6 separate regions of the Homo sapiens genome follow, and regions 1, 2, 3, 4 and 5 are each linked to region 6. Evidence: promoter capture Hi-C in 16 types of primary human blood cells and fetal thymus (Javierre and others, 2016). All regions are on one chromosome and are shown on one strand. The core of a region is centred on a gene start or on the middle of the fragment in contact, and the rest is flanking DNA. Distances in the headings are between cores, read along the strand shown. Region 1 overlaps RNGTT (RNA guanylyltransferase and 5'-phosphatase). Region 2 overlaps RNGTT (RNA guanylyltransferase and 5'-phosphatase). Region 3 overlaps RNGTT (RNA guanylyltransferase and 5'-phosphatase). Region 4 overlaps RNGTT (RNA guanylyltransferase and 5'-phosphatase). Region 5 holds the start of PM20D2 (peptidase M20 domain containing 2). Region 6 holds the start of RARS2 (arginyl-tRNA synthetase 2, mitochondrial).

Region 1 (3,381 bases), core at 84-2,583, 1.3 Mb before region 6:
TGTTTTTCTCTTAATGATATGGTTTTTGGTATGTCTGCTGCCCACTGCCTTGTTTTTTAATGATATTGGACATGTTGAGGTTAATAGATAAATTGCCAGTTTGTAATCTAAAAATGATGAACTCTCTCTGATTCATTCTGTATTCTCCTTTGAATAATTTGCCTTATTCTCTTTATATACTCGCAAGGTTGTTGCATTATTACAACAAAGCTTAATTTCAAATTTTATATTTCTAAGTTTTAAGATTTTTTTAATTTGAGACAGGATCTTGCTCTGTCACCCAGGCGGCAGTGCCTTAGCACGATCAAGGCTCACTGCAGCCTTGAACTCCTGGGCTCGAGTAATCCTCCCACCTCAGTCTCCTGAATAGTAGCTTAGCCTCCTGAGTAGCTGGGATTATGGGAATGTGCCACCCTGCCTGGCTATTTTTTAAATTTTTTGTAAGGATGAAGTCTCCTTATGTTGCCCAGGCTGGTCAAGATATTAGTAGAAATTTTATTCTTCCTCAGCAACATTTTATTTTTTTCTTTTGTAATCCATATTTTTTTGCATCTATTACAGTTTTGCTATATGTATGTATTCATTTAGCAAGTTGAAATAATTATTTTAACAGATATTAACATAGAAGTCATTAACTATTTCATAATAAAATGTTTTGGAATAACTGGCAGTACATATATATTAGCTTTTAAGTGTTATTTTGAAGATGACAGATTCTATTTAATTTTTATGAGTTTTGGAAAGTCTTAAGTGGCAGTTATACTCTTTGTATCATGCCATCTCCATCTCCATTTAACATGTAGTTACCTTAAAAGATATATATGGAGAAAAGAAGTGGAGCAGATACAACCTATTTTCATTATTAGGTGACTATAATGATATTTTAACATTATATGCTTTCTAGAATGTTTAAGTATTTTATTATATTTGATTTTTATTGGGAATATTTAAAAATATTTTCATTCATTTTAATTGTCTGCCTCTGTTGGAAACAATTTTTCCCCTCAGTTTAGCATTTTTTAGCTTTTTTAGGGTATTTTATAGGTAAGACATATTCATTTGACAAAATTCAGAAAATAACATTAAAAAAGAAGAAAATAAAAAAGAAATTTTATCACCTAGAGATTATCACTACTGTCCTTATGGTATTGACCTTTTTCTCTGGGTTATATGGCAGGTGTGGTTTTTATTATTATTATTATTTTTTGAGACGGGTTTTCACTCTTGTTGTCCAGGCTGAAGTGCAATGGCACGATCTCGGCTCACCACAACCTCCGCCTGCCAGGTTCAAGCGATTCTGCTGCCTCAGCCTCCCAAGTAGCTGGGTTTATGGCATGTGCCACCACACCTGGCTTATTTTGTATTTTTAGTAGAGACAGGGTTTCTCCATGTTGGTCAGGCTGGTCTCGAACTCCCTATCTCAGGTGATCCACCTGCCTTGGTCTCCCAAAGTGCTGGGATTACAGGTGTGAGCCACCGTGCCTGGCCTGTGGTTTTTATTATTAATGCTTTGTGTACTAATTCAAGTAGTTAAATAACAAGTATTTGATATTTATATGTTTATTTGTTCATATTATTTTGAACTTCCTTAATGAACTAGCCTTAAAAATTAATAATAATGTATAATGCAAAATTGAAACAGTGTAGAAATGAAAAAATGTGCCTTGTGTGCTTGCAGCAGTTATACAAAGAAAGATATAGATCCATAAACAGAATTTGGATCATTTACCCATTCTGCACCCTTCCCTGTGGATATGTGTTTTTGATGGATAAATGAAAATTAGCCTTTCTGCTTATTTTCAGAATATTAAAATTATATTTATTTAATATGTTGGGTTAGATTATGTTCAGAATCTATTAAATTGGTAGTAAGGATGTTAAGGATGTTGTTGAGACATACATTTTAATAGATACGTAAAAATGTCTTAACAAATGTCTTACTTCTGTGGGTGGAGAAAGAGTGGAAAACGTGAGGTCAAGGTGTCTATCTCTAGGCTTTACACTACGAAATGAACTGGGGATTTGGGATTGAGGCATACATTTAACCTCTTAGGAGTTTCATATTTTAGGTACTCTTTTTTTTTTCTGTTGAAATTTATTTTATTATCTTATTTTTTTGAGACAGGGTCCTCACTCTGTTGCCTAGGCTAGAGTGCAGTGGCACAGTGATTGCTCACTGCAACCTTGACCTCCTGGGCTCAAGTCATTCTCCCACCTCAGCCTCCAGAGTCGCTGGGATTACAGACATGCACCACTATGGCCAGCTAATTTTTAAAATTTTCTGTAGAGATATGATCTTGCCATGTTGCCCAGGCTGGTCTTGAGCTCCTGGGCTGTAGTGATCCTCCTGCCTTGGCTTCCCAAAGTGTTAGGATTACAGGCATGAGCCACCACATCTGGCCTTATATACTCTTTACTTTCTGCATTGCTTTCTTCACAGTATCATGGTAAGCTTTGGGCAAAATAATAAAGCCTGCAAAATTTGTCTCTTGTTTCTGCCATCCAACTTTTGTTGATTTTGTTCCTCCTCTGTAGTTGTGTACCCCTTTCTCTGTGTGTTGGTATTGTTAGACCCCTAGATGATTGGCTAAAGTAATTTTTTATGAAGTAATTGGTTAAGATGTTTTTGATTGCTAATGGAAATATCTAATTTCTCCTAGAACCAGGCTCCACCAAAAACAAAAGGAAAACCCTGAGTATTTATTGAATACCTACTCTGTTTTAGGATACTTTTTTCTGGGAGAGAAAAAATTTTGCAAGGTGTTTCTGGGCCAGTGTAAAATCTATCTTTTGCGCACTAGGATTTAAGTACAGTAGCATGGAAGAGGGACTTTCTGTGATTGAATAAGGTGAAAAGAGCCTGAGGAGGCTGTAGAATGGTCTTAGAGGCTATGAAATAAGAGTAACTGATTAATAGCTATGAGTCCTGGACTCCATCGTCGTTAAAGCTATGTCAGGATACAGTGTAGGATTTCTTTTTATTATCCTTATTTCATAATTTAATGGCAATTTATTATATCTCGTAACAATATTTAAACCAAGGATCTCTGAAATTGAGTGTAATAGGAAACCTGGATATAGTTAACAGTAAAAGGTATTGTGTAAGAATTTTGCATTAGCCTGACCAAGGCCTGAGGGCCTGGAGATAACAGTAAGTAGAGTGGCTTTTTTTTTTTTTTTTTTTTTTTAAAGAAATTGTGTTTTGCTATGTTGCTCAGGATGGTCTCAAACTCCTGGCCTCAAGTGATTCTTCCCTGTTGGCCTCCTGAAGTACTGGGATTATAAGTGTGAGCCATTGAACCCTGCCTGGAGTGGTTTTGACAGGAAACTTTAATGGATTTGAAAACATTGTAGAATAGGGAATATTTCTGAAATGTAAAG
Region 2 (3,093 bases), core at 444-2,943, 1.3 Mb before region 6:
TCTCTTCCTTGAATCATCTTTCTTCTTTATGTTTCTAGTTTCTTCAAATGTGTGGTGATCCTTGGTTGGCTGTGCATTTGAAACGAGGCAGAGAAGCTGCTTGGAAGCTCCATGAATGTGGGCTGGGTTTGTCAATTTCTGACCTTTGCTTTATGATAAGCAGTTGTGCTTAGGTGCTCTTCCCTCACTACCCATTTGGTTCAGTTTCTTTTACTTTCTTTCTTTTTTTTTTCTGTTCACCCTCCCACCCTGTTTCAGTTTCTTTAGAGAAGAGCTCTCTGATTTTTCTTTTCTTTTGCTTGAGGAATAACCTGTGTGTTGTGTGTATGAGTTGTGAGAATTTAATTGTTGTACATAGCTAAAAATAACCAATCCCTCCTTTTCAGTCCATATGTCACTGTAGTCATCCTGTGCACTTGATGTTTCTGGGTCTGGATCTTCTTTGGGGTTTTGTAAAATAGGCACCTCCATCTGTGAATCCTGCTACCTCTGTGCATGCTTCTCAGCACTTTTCAGTACTTCTCCGTCTATTTCTTGTCAACCAGAAATTTATTGAAATAGTGCATCTGCTGATGCTCTTTTCTCCTTCCCTTCATTATCTTCATTGTTATAGCCATTTCTAATAAATTACCCTAAAATTACCCCAAAATATAACAGTTTAAAATTCAAATATTTACTGTCTCATCGTTTCTTGGGAGCAGTGTGGTTGGGTGAGTCTTTTTTGTTTTTCTTAAATCCATAGCCTCAAGCATTTATCCCTTGTTACAAGCAATCCAATGATACTCTAAGTTATTTTGGAAAGTACAGTTAAGTTATTGTTGACTATAGTCACCCTATTGTGCTATCAAATAGTAGGTCTTATTCATTTATTCTTTTTTTTTGTACCTATTAAGCTGGGTGATTATGGTTCAATGTCGTCTATCAGATTGCAGTCAAGCTGTTGGCCAGGGCTGTTGTCATTTCAAGGGTCCACTTCCAAGCTCATGTGTATGGTTGATGGCAGGCCTCAGTTCCTCAGCTGGCTGTTGGCATGAGACCTCCATTTCTTACCAGTGGGGAGGAAAAACTTTCCTGTACCCACTTAGGTTCAATAGTTAGGGGCCTACAAATTAAACTGACAAAACATAGATTAGCAAGAGAAAAAACAAAGTTTATATGTGTATGGAAGCACATAAAAGAAGTGGCTTACAAGATGGTTGAAGTTAGTATTCCTAACTTAATGGGACTATGCCTAAAGTTTGTATTCCTAACTTAATGTCTCAAGTTTGTATGTCTAATTTAATGGTGGAAAGGGAAGGTGGAGAATAGGCTTCAGTGTAAGAAAAAAAATGGAATTCTTTAGGAAGGATAAGTGGATTTTTAGAGGAACAAATAGGAGGTAAGAAATGTTTGTTTTTATGGGGGGGAATGGTCTTTTCCATCTTCTTCGTGGCCATAAACTCCTGGAGAGGGGATTTATGATAGTTTTACTCTCAGTCTTCTTTCTGGGAGTGAAGCCACCTAGAAGAAAGGATTTATGGTAGCTTAATTCCCGGAAGTTTCTGCTTTTAGTCAGATAAGGAAAGCTCTGAACAGCCACCTTTCTGCATTTGTTGACTCTCAAATGTCTTCTGGTTAAAATAATCTTCATACCAGCTCTGGGGTTCCGAGTGGGTTCTCACAGCTGCCTGAGTGTCCTCACCATATGGCAGCCAGCTTTACTTATAGCAAATGATCTAAGAGAACACCCAAGATAAAAGTAGTAGTCTGTTTATAATCTAATCTAATCTAGCCCAAGAGGTGACATACAATCCACTTCTGCCATATTCTATTTGTTGTAACATATAAGTCTAGCCCAAACTTAAAGGAGGGGAATTAAGCTCCATCTCTTGAGGTTAAGAGTGTCAAATAATTTTGTGGACTTTCAGGACATATTTTTCAGGACCATATAGCTTTATACTTAAAAAAAAAAAAACTCTGCTATTATTTCAGTAGTGTCTTGGGAAGAATCATTCTATTGTATGGAACATTCCATTGTATAAGTGCATCATACTTTGAAAATTTCTGTGTGGTTGTAAATTTAGCTTGTTTTGAAAGTTTTGCTTTTATAAGAATACCATGATAATATTATTCTAAATAACTTTTTTGAATGAGTAATTATTCATCTGATAGCTTATTATAGGAGTTTATTGCTATGGTCTGTATACTCTAGAATACATTTATGGAAATATGCATACATTTTCTTTGGAGCAAAATCCTCCAGTATATTTATTATTGTAGCAGTTTTTGTAGTAAAAACTACAAACAGCATTTTCTGAAATAATTAATGTATTTTAATGATTTATTGAATAGATCTGAACAATTGTCACTTTTGATTTCATTTTGGGATCTTATGACTTCGCTAGATGGCAGCAGAGGACCAGGTTTAATTCAGACTGCTTTTGTGAAGCAGTAGAATTCTAATGGTATCCAGTGCATTGGACATCTATTTTATAATACAACCCAGAATATTAGCTGGGGATTATTAAGAATTTAGTAAGGATTAGTGGGATCATATATACAGCATTACTGAAAGCATAGCCATTTTGACAATGTTGGTATGTTCTTTTGTGCATTGCATCTGAATTATTATATTTGCAAATGACCTTAAAGTGCCATTTTGGACCTTTTTTGGTAAAAACAATGTAGCCGTATTAAAGTCCCTAGAAGTGTTTTTTCTGTATCAGGAAACTGAGACATTCTTAAGTTGAAATCTCAGAAGGGAAGAATGATATGAAGATTCTCTTTTATCCCATTTGGATTTTTTTTTTTTTTTTTGCTCTTAATTGTGTTGGGAGCAAAGGAGTCTAATAGAAAAACATGATGTTGGAATGTAGCTCTTTTATTTATAGGCAGTGAAATTTATGTTCATAGGATAGAAAAGTTATTTGACTTGTATGTGGTATATGAGGAACAGTAATTTTTATATATGTGCCCTAATGATATATTTTGGGGAAAAAATTCTATAACCATATGTTTTAAAATCATATATAGGATTTTTATTTTCTGGAGGAACTACATTTGGTTTTTGCATGTTTGATGGTAATTTGCTTCTCAAAAGGCAGTAACATGTGA
Region 3 (3,150 bases), core at 430-2,929, 1.4 Mb before region 6:
AGTTTTTAGCTATTACAAATAAACCTGCTGTGAACATTCATGTACAATTCTTTGTGTGGACATATACTTTCATTTCTCTTGTGTAAGTCTCTAGGAGAGGAATGGCTGCATCATATGGTAGGTGTATGTTTTAAGAATTTTAAGAAACTGCCAACCTCTTTTCCAAAGTGGTAACACTTGATAGTCCCACCATCAATGTATTATACAGAAGAAATTCAAAGGACTTAAAAACTAGCAAAAAATTTGGACACTTCACAAAATAAGTTATATGAATAGCCAAAAAGCTATGATGGCGTGGTGGTATGTGCCTGTAATCCCAGCTACTCGGGAGGCCGAGGCAGGGGAATCACTTGAACCCAGGAGACGGAGGTTGCAGTGAGCTGAGATTGCACCACTGCACTCCAGCATGGGTGACAGAGTGAGACTCCATCTCAAAAAAAAAAAAAAGTAATTTGTACTTATCGTGTAATTTATTAGTAAGGGTTCTCTAGAGGGACAGAACTAATAGGAAATATATGTACATATATATATATACACACACACACATACATACACACACACACATACAGACGTAAAGGGGAGTTTATTAACTGTTAACTCACACGATCACAAGGTCCCACAATAGGTTGTCAGCAAACTGAGGAGCAAGGAGAGTCAGTCTGAGTCCCAAAATGGAAGAACTTGGAATCCAGTGTTTGAGGGCAGGAAGCGTCCACCACAGGACAAAGATGTAGGCTGGGAGGCTAAGCCGGTCAAGTCTTTTCACATTTTTCTGCCTGCTTTATATTCTAGCCATGCTGGCAGCTGATTAGATGGTGCCCACCCAGATTAAGGGTGGGTTTGCTTTTCCCAGCCCACTGATTCAAATGTTAATCTCCTTTGCAACACCCTCTACACCCAGGATCAATATTTTGCATCCTTCAATCCAATCGAGTTGACACTCAGTATTAACCATCACAGTAATTTCTTTGATATTTTGCATATTGAGGAAAATGTTATGGCTGCTCAAACTTATATGTTGTAAATGTTAGGATTCACTTTACTAGTACTAGAAGTTCATAATTTTCCTGAATCAGAAAGAAAATGGTACTAACTACATATAATTTGTTTCTCTGTGAAGTCACTTTCTCTGATGAAACCAGACTTGCAATGAGAGAGAGCTCTTGGAGACAGGGCCAAGCTTTATTTTCTGAAGAACTGTTTTTTCCTCCTTCTGAGTTAATAGATTTCAGGTGAATACTTGGAAGAAAACAAACTTATAATTTCTTTTCCTTTTTCCTTTTTTTCTTTTCTTTTCTTTTCTTTTTTGTATTTTTAGTAGAGATGGGGTTTCACCATGTTGGCCAGGCTGGTCTCCAACTGCTGACCTCGGGTGATCCGCCTGCCTTGGCCTCCCAAAGTGTTGGCATTACAGGTGTGAGCTACCGCACCCAGCCCTCCCTAGTTTCTTAAAGATATATCATTCAACATAAAATTATTTCATATCTGCTATGTAAAGAGCTTACTAGGAACTGTGGGAATGTAAATATGAGACACAGCCAGGTGCATTGGCACATACTTGTGGTCCCAGGTACTCAGGATAGTGTGATGGTGATAGTGATGGTGATTTTGAAGTCATTTTATTTAGCAAATATTTAAATGTCTACTTTGTGCTAGTCCTGGGTGCTAGGGAGATGGCTAAGATATATTACCCTTAAAAAGCAGAGTCTCATGGGAGTAGCAAACCATCCATTTTAAGCACAGTTCTGTTGTAAAAAATGTAGCAATGACTCTATTGTGGTATATGATGGGAATCAGAGGTAATAAACCTAATTCTTTGAGGTTGAGGAAGAAGAGATGGGAAGGAAGAAGGAGATCAGGTGAGACTTCCCAGAGAAGGTCATACATGAATTATCTTCAGTAAATAGAAGTTTTCTAGATAAATAGTTGGCAGGGGGTGTTATTGAAAGTTTCTGTTAGGATAGGATGATGATGGGAGAGATAATAGACTGAAAAAGTGTCTTTGTTCTGGAAGATGTAAGTGAGGTTAAGAGGTTGGAGAATAGCCTGATCATACAGGCAAGTAGGGTGTGATAAGGTATCCTAATATTTATATGCTTTAAATTTTCAGTGGCATACAATTGCAGTTTTTTTTTTCAGCATCGAGATGAGATTATTTGAATCCAAGTTAAAAGCTTACTTTGACTTTTCTGTGTTTAATGAATTGATGGAGAAAAGAGTGGAAATGGAGAGACTAATTAGGAACTTGTTGTAGTCCAGGTGAAAGACAATAGTGATAGTTTAAAAGTGACAGATGAAGAGTAGAAGGCTAATTTGAGAGATATTAAGAAGGGAAAATGGACAGAACTTGATGTCGTATTTAGAATGAGGGAAAGAGGGTCAAAATTTAGTCTCAAATGTCTGGCTTATGCACATGAGATAGTTGATATTATTAGGGCTTACTGAGAGAGAAGCAGGTTGGAGGAGATATTAAGATCCTGATTGCTCAAATAGAGATCTTTAGTAAAGATCTTTTTAAAAAACATTTTTATGTTATTTCAGTAGTTTTTGGGGGACAGGTGGTTTTTGGTTACATGGATAAGTACTTCAGTGATGATTTCTGAGATTTTGGTGCACCTGTCACTCAAGGAGTGTACACTGTAGTAGTCTTTTATCCCTCATCCCCCCTCTCCACACTTCCCCCTGAGTACCCAAAGTCCATTATATCATTGTTATGTCTTTGCATTCTCATAGCTTAGCTCCCACTTACAAGTGAGAACACAGGATATTTGGGTTTCCATTCCTGAGTTACTTCACTTAGAATGATGGGGTCCAACTCCATCTAGGTTGCCATGAATGCCATTATTTCATTCCTTTTTATGGCTGAGTAGTATTCCATGGTATATATACATATCACATTTTCTTTATCCACTCATTGGTTCTTGGGCATTTAAGCTGGTTCCACATTTTTGCAATTGCAAATTGTGCTGCTGTAAACATGCCTGTGCAAGTGGCTTTTTCAGATAATGACTTATTTTCTTCTGGGTAGATACCCAGTAGTGGGATTGCTGGATCAAATGGTAGTTCTTCTAGTTCTTCAAGGAATCACCATACTGTTTTCCCTAGTGGTTGTAATAATTTACATTCCCACCAGCAGTGTAAAAGTGTTAC
Region 4 (3,106 bases), core at 335-2,834, 1.3 Mb before region 6:
TTCCTGCGGTGGTGCTGTTGGCTGGTTGCTTTGTAGCCTTGATTGTGTAGTTGTTTTATAGGGTCTGTGGGCTGTGTACTTACGTGTATTTTTGTGGTAGCAGATACTGTTTTTGTTTCCATGTTTAGAACTCCCATAAGCATCTCTTGTAAGGCCAGTCTAGTGGTAACAGATTCCCTTAGCAATTGCTAATCCTGCAAAGATTTTATTTCTCCTTCGCTTATGAAGCTTAATTTGGTGGGATATGGAATTCTTGGCTGGAATTTCTCCTAGGATGCTAAATATAGGCCTCCAGTCTCTTCTGGCTTATAAGATTTCTACTGAGAAGTCTGCTGTTAGCCTGATGAGGTTCCCTTTATAGGTGATATGACTCTTTTTCTAGTTGTCTTTAAGATTTTTTCTTTTACATAGACCTTGGAAAGTCTGATGACTCTGCCTTGATGATGGTCGTTTTGTATAGTACCGTACAGGGGTTTTCTGAGTTTCTTATATTAGCATGTTGACCTGTCTAGCAACTTTGGAGACATTTTTGTGGATTATATTCTCAAATATGTCTTTCATGGTGCTTACTCTTTCTTCTTAGGAATATCGTGGGTTGTAGGTTTGGTCACTTTATGTAATCCTATTATTTCTCAGAGGCTTTGTTCATTTGTTGAAGATTCTTTTTCTTTATTTTTGTCTGACTCAGTTGCTTCAAAGGATTGGTCTTCAAGCTCTGAGATTCTTTCCTCTGCTTGGTTTAGTCTGTTGTTAAGCATCTCTTATAAGGCCGGTTGTTAAGATTTTTAATTGTATTTTGAAATTCCTGTGGTGAATTGAATTTCAGATTGGTTCTTCCTTAGTATAGCTATGTTATATTCCAAATCTTGGATTGTTTTTCTGACTTCCTTGGATTGGATTTCAACCTTCTCTTGGGTCTTGTTGAGCTTCCTTGCCATCCATATTCTGAATTCTGTGTCTATAATTTCAGACATTACGTTCTGGTTGGGATCCATTGCTAGGGAGTATATGCAATCCTTTGGAAATAACAAAACACTCTAACTTTTTGAATTGCCAGAGTTCTTGCACTGATTACTTCTCATCTGAGGGAACTGGTCCTTCTTTTTGTTTTTGAATTTGCTGTTGATTGAATGGGTTTTTTTTTTTTAAATATTCTTTTTTCCCTTGAGAGTTTGATGGTGGTAAATGTTGTGTATAGTCAGTTGGCTTCATTTCTGGGTGCTTTCAGAGGGCCAAGGCTCTGTATGAGTTCCTTGGTTGTAGATAGGTTTCTATGAGGGTTTCACAGGCTTTGCATGTTGAAGCAGTGTATTTTGTTTTGCTGTGTAATTCAAGCTGCAGTTGGTGCTTAAATATAAGGGCAGATAGGCTCTTACACAGCTGCGCATGCTCCCTTTGTATTTCATTGTGTCCTCAGCAGTGCTCTGGAGAGAGGACGCAGGGTAAGAGATGACTTTCTCTCATAGTCTGTTCTTAAGCCTTGGTGGTATCCCCCTCAGCTACTGGCACTGTCTCACGTTTCCTTTGCTCTGTGTGGGGCTTTGGTGGGCTTCTCTTCCTGCTCGCTTAGATATGATTCAAGCCAAGGGTTAGGCCACCAGGAGACCTGAAACTCCTTAGGGACCTACCAGTCCCCTGTGCTTGTCAGTAAGAGTGGGTTGTGGGGTATGTCTGCAGGTGGTCTGGTAATGCAGTGGGTCAAGCAAGGGTGGTAGATCCTCAGGCAGGGAAGTGGCACCGTATGTGTGTGTAGCCAGTATAGTGACCATGGCCCGGGTTTGCAGCCCAGCCGATGGCTGTGTGGCCCTCACAACTTGCACTCCCCTGACCTGGTTGGTCTCTGTCTGATGTCTGTCTCAGGAGCAGGCGCAACCAGACTGGCCAGGCTTGTCTCAAAAGCCCTGCGTGCCCAGTTCGTTGAGCCATTTCAGATGCTCCAAGCCACGGAGCTTCCTGGGGAAGAAACCTTGGCTGGCTGTCAGGCCACACCCATCCTGGACTGGTCTTCTGAAGAGAGGTTGCTTAGTTTCCATGCCACACTCTTCTCTGTATTCTGAGAGTGAAGGCTCCTTTCCTGCCCAAGCTCAGGCCACAGAGCTTAACTCAATACCCCTGGGCAGTGTGCTTGAGTCCTGGGGAAGTGGGACCAGGCCTGCACATTTGTCCTCTGGCCCCTTAGGATCAGCCAGCAGGCTGCCAGCAGAACACTCAGGCAGGGAAGTGGAGGCTGTTCTGTGGGCACTGTCTTGCAGGAGCAGCCAGGCAGGCAGTCTTTGAAGAGTTGGCAGGCAAAGGGGCATGTGGATCAGATACACTATGGTCCTATGGCAGTGGCAGTCTTACTCTCTTCGCCCTGCAGATAGCAGGACCTGCAGCCACTCAGTACAAGCTGGAGAGCCTTGGAGGATGGGCCCTATGGTGGTGTTTTGCTGCAGCTGCACCGTGGTCTGTGGGGCTCATGGCTAGAATCTTGTAGCTAGGATCCCAGAGGACCATGGTGGGAGTGTGGTGCCCCAGGGTTCCTTTACTCAGCCCTCCCTTAGGTCCACACTGGAACTGGGGGCCAGTCCTGGTGCCTAGTTACTCCAAGCAGTCTACGTCGCTTCTTCCCTCTTCAAACACTGTGTCTGCTTTGCCTCTCTATTGGCTTTCAGTGTTTTCTCTCAAAAGATCTGTTCAAAGTTGCAGGATTTTGTATTGTCAAGTTTTGGTGGTTCAAAGTGTGGTGGCTTACTTGATATTTTGGTTCCTTTTCATGGAAGAGGCGTTTTTCAGCTGTAGGTAGTTGGCCGTCTTGCCTAGAACTCTTTTTTATATTCTTAATGATGTCTTTCAAAGAGCAAACCCTTGCTATTTTGAAATAGTCTAATTTATCAGTATTTTTCTTCATTTTATGCTTTTTGTGTTTTATCTAAGAAACTTTTTCTACTCTAAGCTTGCAAAGATTTACTCCTGTATTTTCTTCTAGAAGTTTTGTAAATCTAGCTAGTTTATTTCTATATTTGATCTTAGTTGCACTGTATCAGTATGATCTATATATACAGAGAAGAATAATTTGTAGAAGGTAATATTAGAAAGATACAGGCTGGGCATTGTGGCTCATGCC
Region 5 (3,142 bases), core at 540-3,039, 1.6 Mb before region 6:
TCGGCTCACTGCAACCTCTGCCTCCTGGGTTCAAGCGATTCTCCTGCCTCAGCCTCCCGAGTAGCTGGGATTACAGGCGTGAGCCACCACGCCCAGCTAATTTTTTTTTTTTTAATATATTTTAGTAGAGACAGAGGTTTCACCATGTTGGCCAGGCGGGTCTCGAACTCCAGACCTCAACTGATCTGCCCACCGCTCTTCATTCTTGACCCTTAACTCATTAAATACGATATGTCTCTCGCTGACTACTCAGAACCTTTAAAAACGTGGTTGAAGCGAAATCTCTCCAGTGTTTGTGACATGGCAAAGCATGCTTCCCCCAACCCAAACAAAAACCTAACAAATGCAAAAACGAGCCTCCAGAGACAGAAAAAAGAAGGCAGCTAAAGTGAAAAAGCCACAAAAGATGTAGTGTTAGGATAAAAGAGGAAGGTTACTGACACTGGGGGAAATGAACTAAAGAGTATGAAAATAAAACATTTGTTTTCCCCTTAACTGAATGACGATTGAATCTTAGCTCATAGTGTAGAATATACCATCTGGAAAAGCAGAGTAAAACAGGATTAAACTTGCCCTACGACAAACATAAACGACATTTCCCTGTTTAAAGAGTCGAGGTATTTCTTAAAATCATAAAACAAAAAAATTAAGACTTAAGGATGAACTCATCTATGTATAATGCTCATTCACTTCCCCTTTATTTGTATACTTCTAGGGGTCTGGTGGTTCTAGCGACTGAAAATTCCTATCCAAATACCAATGACTTGAATCACATTTTCTAGGACTGCCACAAACAAAAGATTTATTTGGAGACGAATAAAAAGGGGCCGTAGGATTACCTACAAGAAGTTATTTCCTCCTGAGATTGATGGCACAACCTTGTCAGCAAATTGCTGTTGCCTCTCTCAGTTACCAAAAATAACCCGTAACAAACACCAGGCTTGGGTGTAAGTTCTTTCCTAAGGGAACAACTCAGCAGAGCTGTTTATAACTAGAGAGGAGGAAACAATAATCTGCAAGATGTCGCCAGGTCGGCAACGCGAACTGACTTTGACTGGGGGTTCAGCTCTGCTCCTGCGCCGAGGCGAGGACCGCAGGTTTAGCGCGGTCCCACACACACCTGCCCCGGGCGGGAGGGCACCGAGGCGCGCGGGACGCACGAGAGTCCCGCCCTTCCCGGGTCGCCCCCGACCCGGGCAGTCGGATAGGGTCCCGCACCCGGGCCCCACCTCACCTTCACGGGCGGAGGCGGCCTGGGGAGGCCCTCTAAGGCCCCCCTCACGCCCAGCGCGGCCGCCGCCCCGACCTCAGCGATGAGGTTGTGGCCGCAGGCGTGGCCGATGCCGGGCAGCGCGTCGTACTCGCAGAGGAAGCCCAGGTGCAGCGGGCGTGGCGTGGCGCTCGGTGCCCGGGCCTCCGGCGGCTCCCACTCGGCGCGGAAGGCCGTGGGCAGCTGGTAGTGCGGCTGCACTGCCCAGGAGGCCGCGGGCGGCTCCCGCTCGAAGAAGTGCGTCAGCACGCGGTGGGCATGGTGCTCCTCGTAGGCCAGCTCGGGCTGGCTCCAGATCGCGCGGCTCAGGGCCCCCAGCCGCTCGGCCGCCTCGTCGATGCACTCCGCCGAGCGCAGCTTCAGTAGCTCCAGCTCGGAGCGGCCATTGCACGCGCCCCCTTCCACGGGCCGCTCCCCTCCGGGCCTCATGCTGCCCAAGCCCGCTGCCCTCTGCGCCCTCTCGCTCCCTGGCTCGGCCGCAGGTAGCGACCGCCCGCGCACGCGCCCAGAGGCCTCCAGGACCCCGGCGGAGCGCGCACGCGGCCACACAGCTCCCAGGGCACCACCCCCAGTCCCGGGGCCGCCCCCGGCGCCGCGCGGGAAACGCTGGCGGCCGCTCGTACCCTACCAGGCGCTCTGCCCCGCCGTGGGGTTTTGGGGGTGCTGTGGAGAAGGCAGGGCTCGGGACTCTTCCACCTCCTTGGCTGCTCTGGCCTTTGAGTTATGCTCTAAGATTATCGATTACTTTTCCGTTGTTGCTTATTTCCCACAGCAGCAGAATGAGAACGGTTATTAGTTAATAGCCATCAGAGACAGACCAAGTGGAACACAGTCCTCGGAAAAACGCCACTCTGTAGCATTAGTAATTAAAACCTCACAAGGTTTGTATTTCCTGAAGGAGGCCGTCAGTGTCAATGCTGTACTAACGACGGTACTGTACGTAAGTTTCGGTACTGCCCCCACTTTCTTCTCCTTGACATTGTATTACTAAAAGCTGCAGCTACTCTCTACAGTTTTCTCATTGGTTACTAATGTCTGGAACAGCAGCTAGATTATGCAGTAAGCTCTTGGTATGTATTAGCTATTATATAATAATTTATTTGAATAGAGTAGAACTAAAAATTTGAAATGAGTTAAAACCAAAGAGTTAAAAGATTTATGGTAGTAAATATTCATACTGTTTTGTTGATTTGGACAGTTGTCTTGAACAGCTTTGAAAGGGAACATATGACAGGTTTCGTTTATAATTTTAATTGATGCTGAACTCCACTAACATGATATGTGCAGCTGGTGTTACATTATAACTGAGTTTTTTAATTACCCAGTGAAGAAATTCAAGATGTCATGCTCTTGTTTTTCTCCAGAGTGAACCACAAAGTCTGAAAAACTGTTGTTGACGGTATGCCTATTAATAACACTGTAGATGTTTATATTCTGAGGTTTTCCACATATTAAAAGCTTCTATCAGCTCTTCATACCCTATCATCTTTCCTTAATTTGTCTCAACTATGTTAAATGGGACACAATATATTAATGTGATAAACCAAATGAATATTTTGAAAATAAGTCTAAGGGAAGCTAACATGCACGAAGACTATCAACTACTGTTTTTACTACTCTATATGCTAATAATACCAGAGTAAATGTCACATTCCATTCACGTCTGAAAACTTTCTTTCTCAGTTAACACTCCAACAAAAACTCAGCTCTAAAAACAACAAATGTGTTATTAAATTCCTGGGCCCCCTTGGCGATAATAAATCTTTCTCTGGTATTCTGCTGAAGAAAATTACCCTGTATCCACGAGATCCAATATTATCCTGCTCAGTTAGTTGGCTAAAAAAAGGGGAGAAGGGGGGATTGGAGAGCAAA
Region 6 (3,343 bases), core at 19-2,518:
TCCCGCTGCACTTACAATAGAACTCAAGGTCTTACTTTTTGTGGTCCAGAACAGCGCTGTCCAACAGAACTTTCTGTAATGATAGAAATGTCCTATATCTGCACTATCTAAAATGGTAGCTGCAGCCACATGTGATGATTGAGCACTTGAAATGTGGTTAGTGCAACGGAGAAACTGAATTTTTATTTAATCTTACTTTATTTTAACTCAAATTTAAATAGCCACATGTGGTGAGTGACTAACACATTGGACAATACAGCTCTAGGGCTTATCTTCTTACCAACTACACTATGTCTTGCAATTTCTTGCCATCTAGGTAGCCAACATGAGGAGGTCTATAAGATATCCCACCACACACACCCGCATCCACATTACTTTTTCATTCTCATTTTTCATGACGCTCCCACTCTTTGTCTACTTTCTGATTATGATTTTTAAATTCCTCTAATATGCCATTTTATTTCTATCTTCTGGGCCGAAGAAACATGCTGTTCTCTCTGCCCTCCTCGCCCTAATCCTTAACCTAACTTCTACTCATTTTTCAGGTCTCAGCGAAAGGGTCACTTTCTCCAAAAAGCCTCCGCTAACCCCCGACAACCTATATTAGGTTCTTCCCACTCTTCTGTTGTCTGCCTAGAACTCTTTTCCTTGCTAACACTTAAAATTTGTGATCGTCAGTTTATCTATGTTTACCGACTTTCTTGACTGCAGAAACTGAATCTGTTTTGTTTACCACTGCATCTTGGTACCTAACGGAGTGCTTGGCGCACAGTATTTGTGAGATGGAAAAATGAGAGACTGGGCCACATCATCAGGACATCCGACCTCCACCAACCAGAACTTAAAAATCCTCCTAGCCATACCACAAGGCAGATCCGCGTCCTCGCTCCCCAAGCAAAGTTGGCCTCAACTGATCTGGAGCAAGGACGCCTCAGCTCAGTACGCCGCTCCCTCCCTCCTCTCCAGCCAGGGAAGGGATGCCTACGTAACCTCGGCTTCATCCCTTCTTCAAAGGGGAATGAGGCAGCGGTAGAGCCACAGTGCGCATCGGCCACCACATACCTTAGACATCGAGGACGTAGCCATGGTCTTACTGACTCTGCGTATTCCAGATGCACTCGGGATTTCCCGCGCGCCCTCGCGGCTGCAGGGCAGAGGTTAGTGGCGAGCCACACGGCTCCTTGATTGGCTGGCATCACCCTCCGGGGCGGGTTTCCGGCGCGGGGAGGCGGGTCGTATAAGGAGGTGGGGCGAGGCCGGAACTGGCGGACTGCGGCGCACTTCCGTAGAGGTGGACATGGCGTGCGGCTTTCGCCGCGCTATTGCTTGCCAGGTATGGATCCCGGAGCGCGCAGAGGAGTCCCTGAGGAGCTAGGGACCCCAAAGGCCTTTCACCGCTGCGGGCCAGTCCTCAGTCAGCTGGAGGGTGGGTCCCACGGAATCCTGTTAGTTTCTACCACCTCCTCCCCCTTCTCTGGAGCTGGTGGAGCTTCAGAAGTCCTGTGGAGCGTCGGCTGGGATCAGTTTGTCTCGGTGAAAAGTAAACTTTGAAAGGTACCTGGTGCTTTCTTCTCTCCTTCCCACCCCACAGCTATGAATGCTTTACCTGGGTGGCGGCAAGTCATTAGACCATGATTAGACCCCATAGAAGTTAGTGTTCTTTACACTTTAGTGACATTGATGATGGATCTGGATTGTTCTTCAGAAGGACCTCATTTTAAAGCTGCTTATTTCTCTTGCAGTCACTTAGGCAGCCTACCCTAGAATTGTTTTTGGTAACGCCCAAAGATATAAGAGCTATCTGAGACTCAGTTTTTCTTGGTTCAGGGTCGTATTTGAACAGCTCTGTTGTGAGGAAGGGCTTACAAAATTGCAATATAATTGCTTTGTTTTGTTTTTCCTTTTTGTGGAGAACGGGGTCTCGCCGTATTGCCCAGGCAGGCCTCAAACTCCTGGGCTCAAGCTGTCCTCCCTCCTCTGCTTCCCTAAGAGCCGGGATTACAGGCCTGAGCCACCGCGCTGGGCAAAATTGCAGTATAAATGTGGAATTAATCAAAAAGAATTTTTAAGACTCATTGGCCACCCTTGCAAGGAAACTTTCTATTGTGGTCTTGGCTAACCCATTTCCTTCTGATTAATGGATGTACTAGTGGACGTAATTAGCCTGGTGTATAATTTATCTTGGCTCATTTTTACAGTATTTCTAGACATTTGTGGGGAAATCCCTCTGCCTTGTCTTTATGTTTATAGATGTACTGCCCTGTCCGGTGATAATTCGCCAAATATCACCAACATGACATTTTGTTAAGACAGCTGAATTTATTGCTCACTGGGATAAGGAAGAACACCACTGAGAGCTTTGGTAGTGTATTAAACTGGGAAAGCAAGGTCAGATTTTACTGATGGGTATGGCTTAAGGCTGGTCTTTCAGAGGGAGAGGGTAGGAGGGTGTTGGAGGAAGATGGCTTGATTAGGGTTGGACTCTGATCTGATACAGCGGTTTAAGATTGATAGGAAAAGCAAAGAGTGCAAGAAGCCTTAAGGCATAAACTATTGAGGTTTTCTATTGGAAGAACTAATAGGCCTGGCATGTGGTTCATGCCTATAATCCCAGCACTTTGGGAGGCCAAGGTGGGAGGATGGCTTGAGCCCAGGAGTTCGAGACCAGCGTGGACAACATAGGTAGACCCCGTCTCAACAAAATTTTTTTTAAAAAGTAGCCAGGCATGATGGTGCACCTCTGTAGTCCTAGCTGCTTGAAAGGCTGAGTCTGGAGGATCACTTGGACGGACCCACGAGTTTGAAGCTACAGTGAGCTATGATTGTGCCACTGCACTCCAGGGTGGGTGACAGAGCGAGACCCTGTAAACAAAAAATAAAAATAAAAAACGTGAAAAGCTAATAGATTTCTCATGAAGTTCTTATAATGAATGATTAAGTTATTTGGGCAGAAGTCTTCTAGAACAGTAAAGTTATGCTAATGAAGACAAAAAATAATAAATTCATGTTAATGTAGACAGTAAACCATATCAGGGAAGGTAGTTTTGGACCTTAGTATCTAAGCTGTGTGTAAGGGTGGACGTTTTCCATTCTTAGCCCTTAAGTAAAGATAGTGCCATGATGAGAAACAAATTGTGTTTAGTTTTGCAAAGGCTGTGTTCTTTGTAAAGACTGTAAATTGGACCAGGCATGGTGGCTCACACTTGTAATCCCAGAACTTTGAGAGGCCGAGGTGGGAGGATCCCTTGAACTGAGACGTTCAAGACCAGCCTGGGCAACATAGGGAGACCCCCATCTCTATAAAGAAATAAAAAACAAAACTTAGGTGTAGTGGCACACACCT

Evidence for each region. Contacts are between HindIII fragments. The CHiCAGO score rates a contact against its expected background, and 5 or more counts as called.
Region 1: a fragment that was not itself captured here is called in contact with the fragment with the promoter of RARS2 in region 6 in 1 of 17 cell types (erythroblasts); the score reaches 5.1 in erythroblasts.
Region 2: a contact is called between a fragment that was not itself captured here and the fragment with the promoter of RARS2 in region 6, in 4 of 17 cell types (total CD8 T cells, total B cells, naive B cells and 1 more). The highest score is 6.3, in total CD8 T cells.
Region 3: a contact is called between a fragment that was not itself captured here and the fragment with the promoter of RARS2 in region 6, in 2 of 17 cell types (fetal thymus and total B cells). The highest score is 6.3, in fetal thymus.
Region 4: a contact is called between a fragment that was not itself captured here and the fragment with the promoter of RARS2 in region 6, in 1 of 17 cell types (M0 macrophages). The highest score is 5.2, in M0 macrophages.
Region 5: a contact is called between the fragment with the promoter of PM20D2 here and the fragment with the promoter of RARS2 in region 6, in 1 of 17 cell types (total CD8 T cells). The highest score is 5.0, in total CD8 T cells.

The regions. Positions count from the first base shown.
Region 1 is chr6:88,886,855-88,890,235 of GRCh38, reverse strand. The region is part of intron 8 of RNGTT (RNA guanylyltransferase and 5'-phosphatase); the gene reads left to right. Among named protein-coding and RNA genes, the nearest start is that of RNGTT, 75 kb to the left of the region's middle. The HindIII fragment of the contact is 2,242 bases long and covers 213-2,454 here.
Region 2 is chr6:88,870,215-88,873,307 of GRCh38, reverse strand. The region is part of intron 8 of RNGTT (RNA guanylyltransferase and 5'-phosphatase); the gene reads left to right. Among named protein-coding and RNA genes, the nearest start is that of RNGTT, 92 kb to the left of the region's middle. The HindIII fragment of the contact is 4,616 bases long and covers 1-3,093 here.
Region 3 is chr6:88,958,738-88,961,887 of GRCh38, reverse strand. The region is part of intron 1 of RNGTT (RNA guanylyltransferase and 5'-phosphatase); the gene reads left to right. Among named protein-coding and RNA genes, the nearest start is that of RNGTT, 3.3 kb to the left of the region's middle. The HindIII fragment of the contact is 994 bases long and covers 1,183-2,176 here.
Region 4 is chr6:88,908,011-88,911,116 of GRCh38, reverse strand. The region is part of intron 4 of RNGTT (RNA guanylyltransferase and 5'-phosphatase); the gene reads left to right. Among named protein-coding and RNA genes, the nearest start is that of RNGTT, 54 kb to the left of the region's middle. The HindIII fragment of the contact is 2,707 bases long and covers 231-2,937 here.
Region 5 is chr6:89,144,702-89,147,843 of GRCh38, reverse strand. PM20D2 (peptidase M20 domain containing 2) reads right to left here and starts at 1,789. Exons shown (of 7, transcript NM_001010853.3): 1 at 1,235-1,789. The coding sequence starts at 1,699. LOC101929004 (a long non-coding RNA gene) reads left to right here and starts at 978. Exons shown (of 4, transcript XR_942766.4): 1 at 978-2,151. RefSeq lists a silencer at 1,043-1,972. The HindIII fragment of the contact is 3,355 bases long and covers 1-2,730 here.
Region 6 is chr6:87,587,912-87,591,254 of GRCh38, reverse strand. RARS2 (arginyl-tRNA synthetase 2, mitochondrial) reads left to right here and starts at 1,268. Exons shown (of 20, transcript NM_020320.5): 1 at 1,268-1,333. The coding sequence starts at 1,298. It overlaps ORC3 (origin recognition complex subunit 3), which reads right to left and starts at 1,120. Exons shown (of 20, transcript NM_012381.4): 1 at 1,063-1,120. The coding sequence starts at 1,086. RefSeq lists enhancers at 1,184-1,413, 1,177-2,138. The HindIII fragment of the contact is 3,839 bases long and covers 1-3,343 here.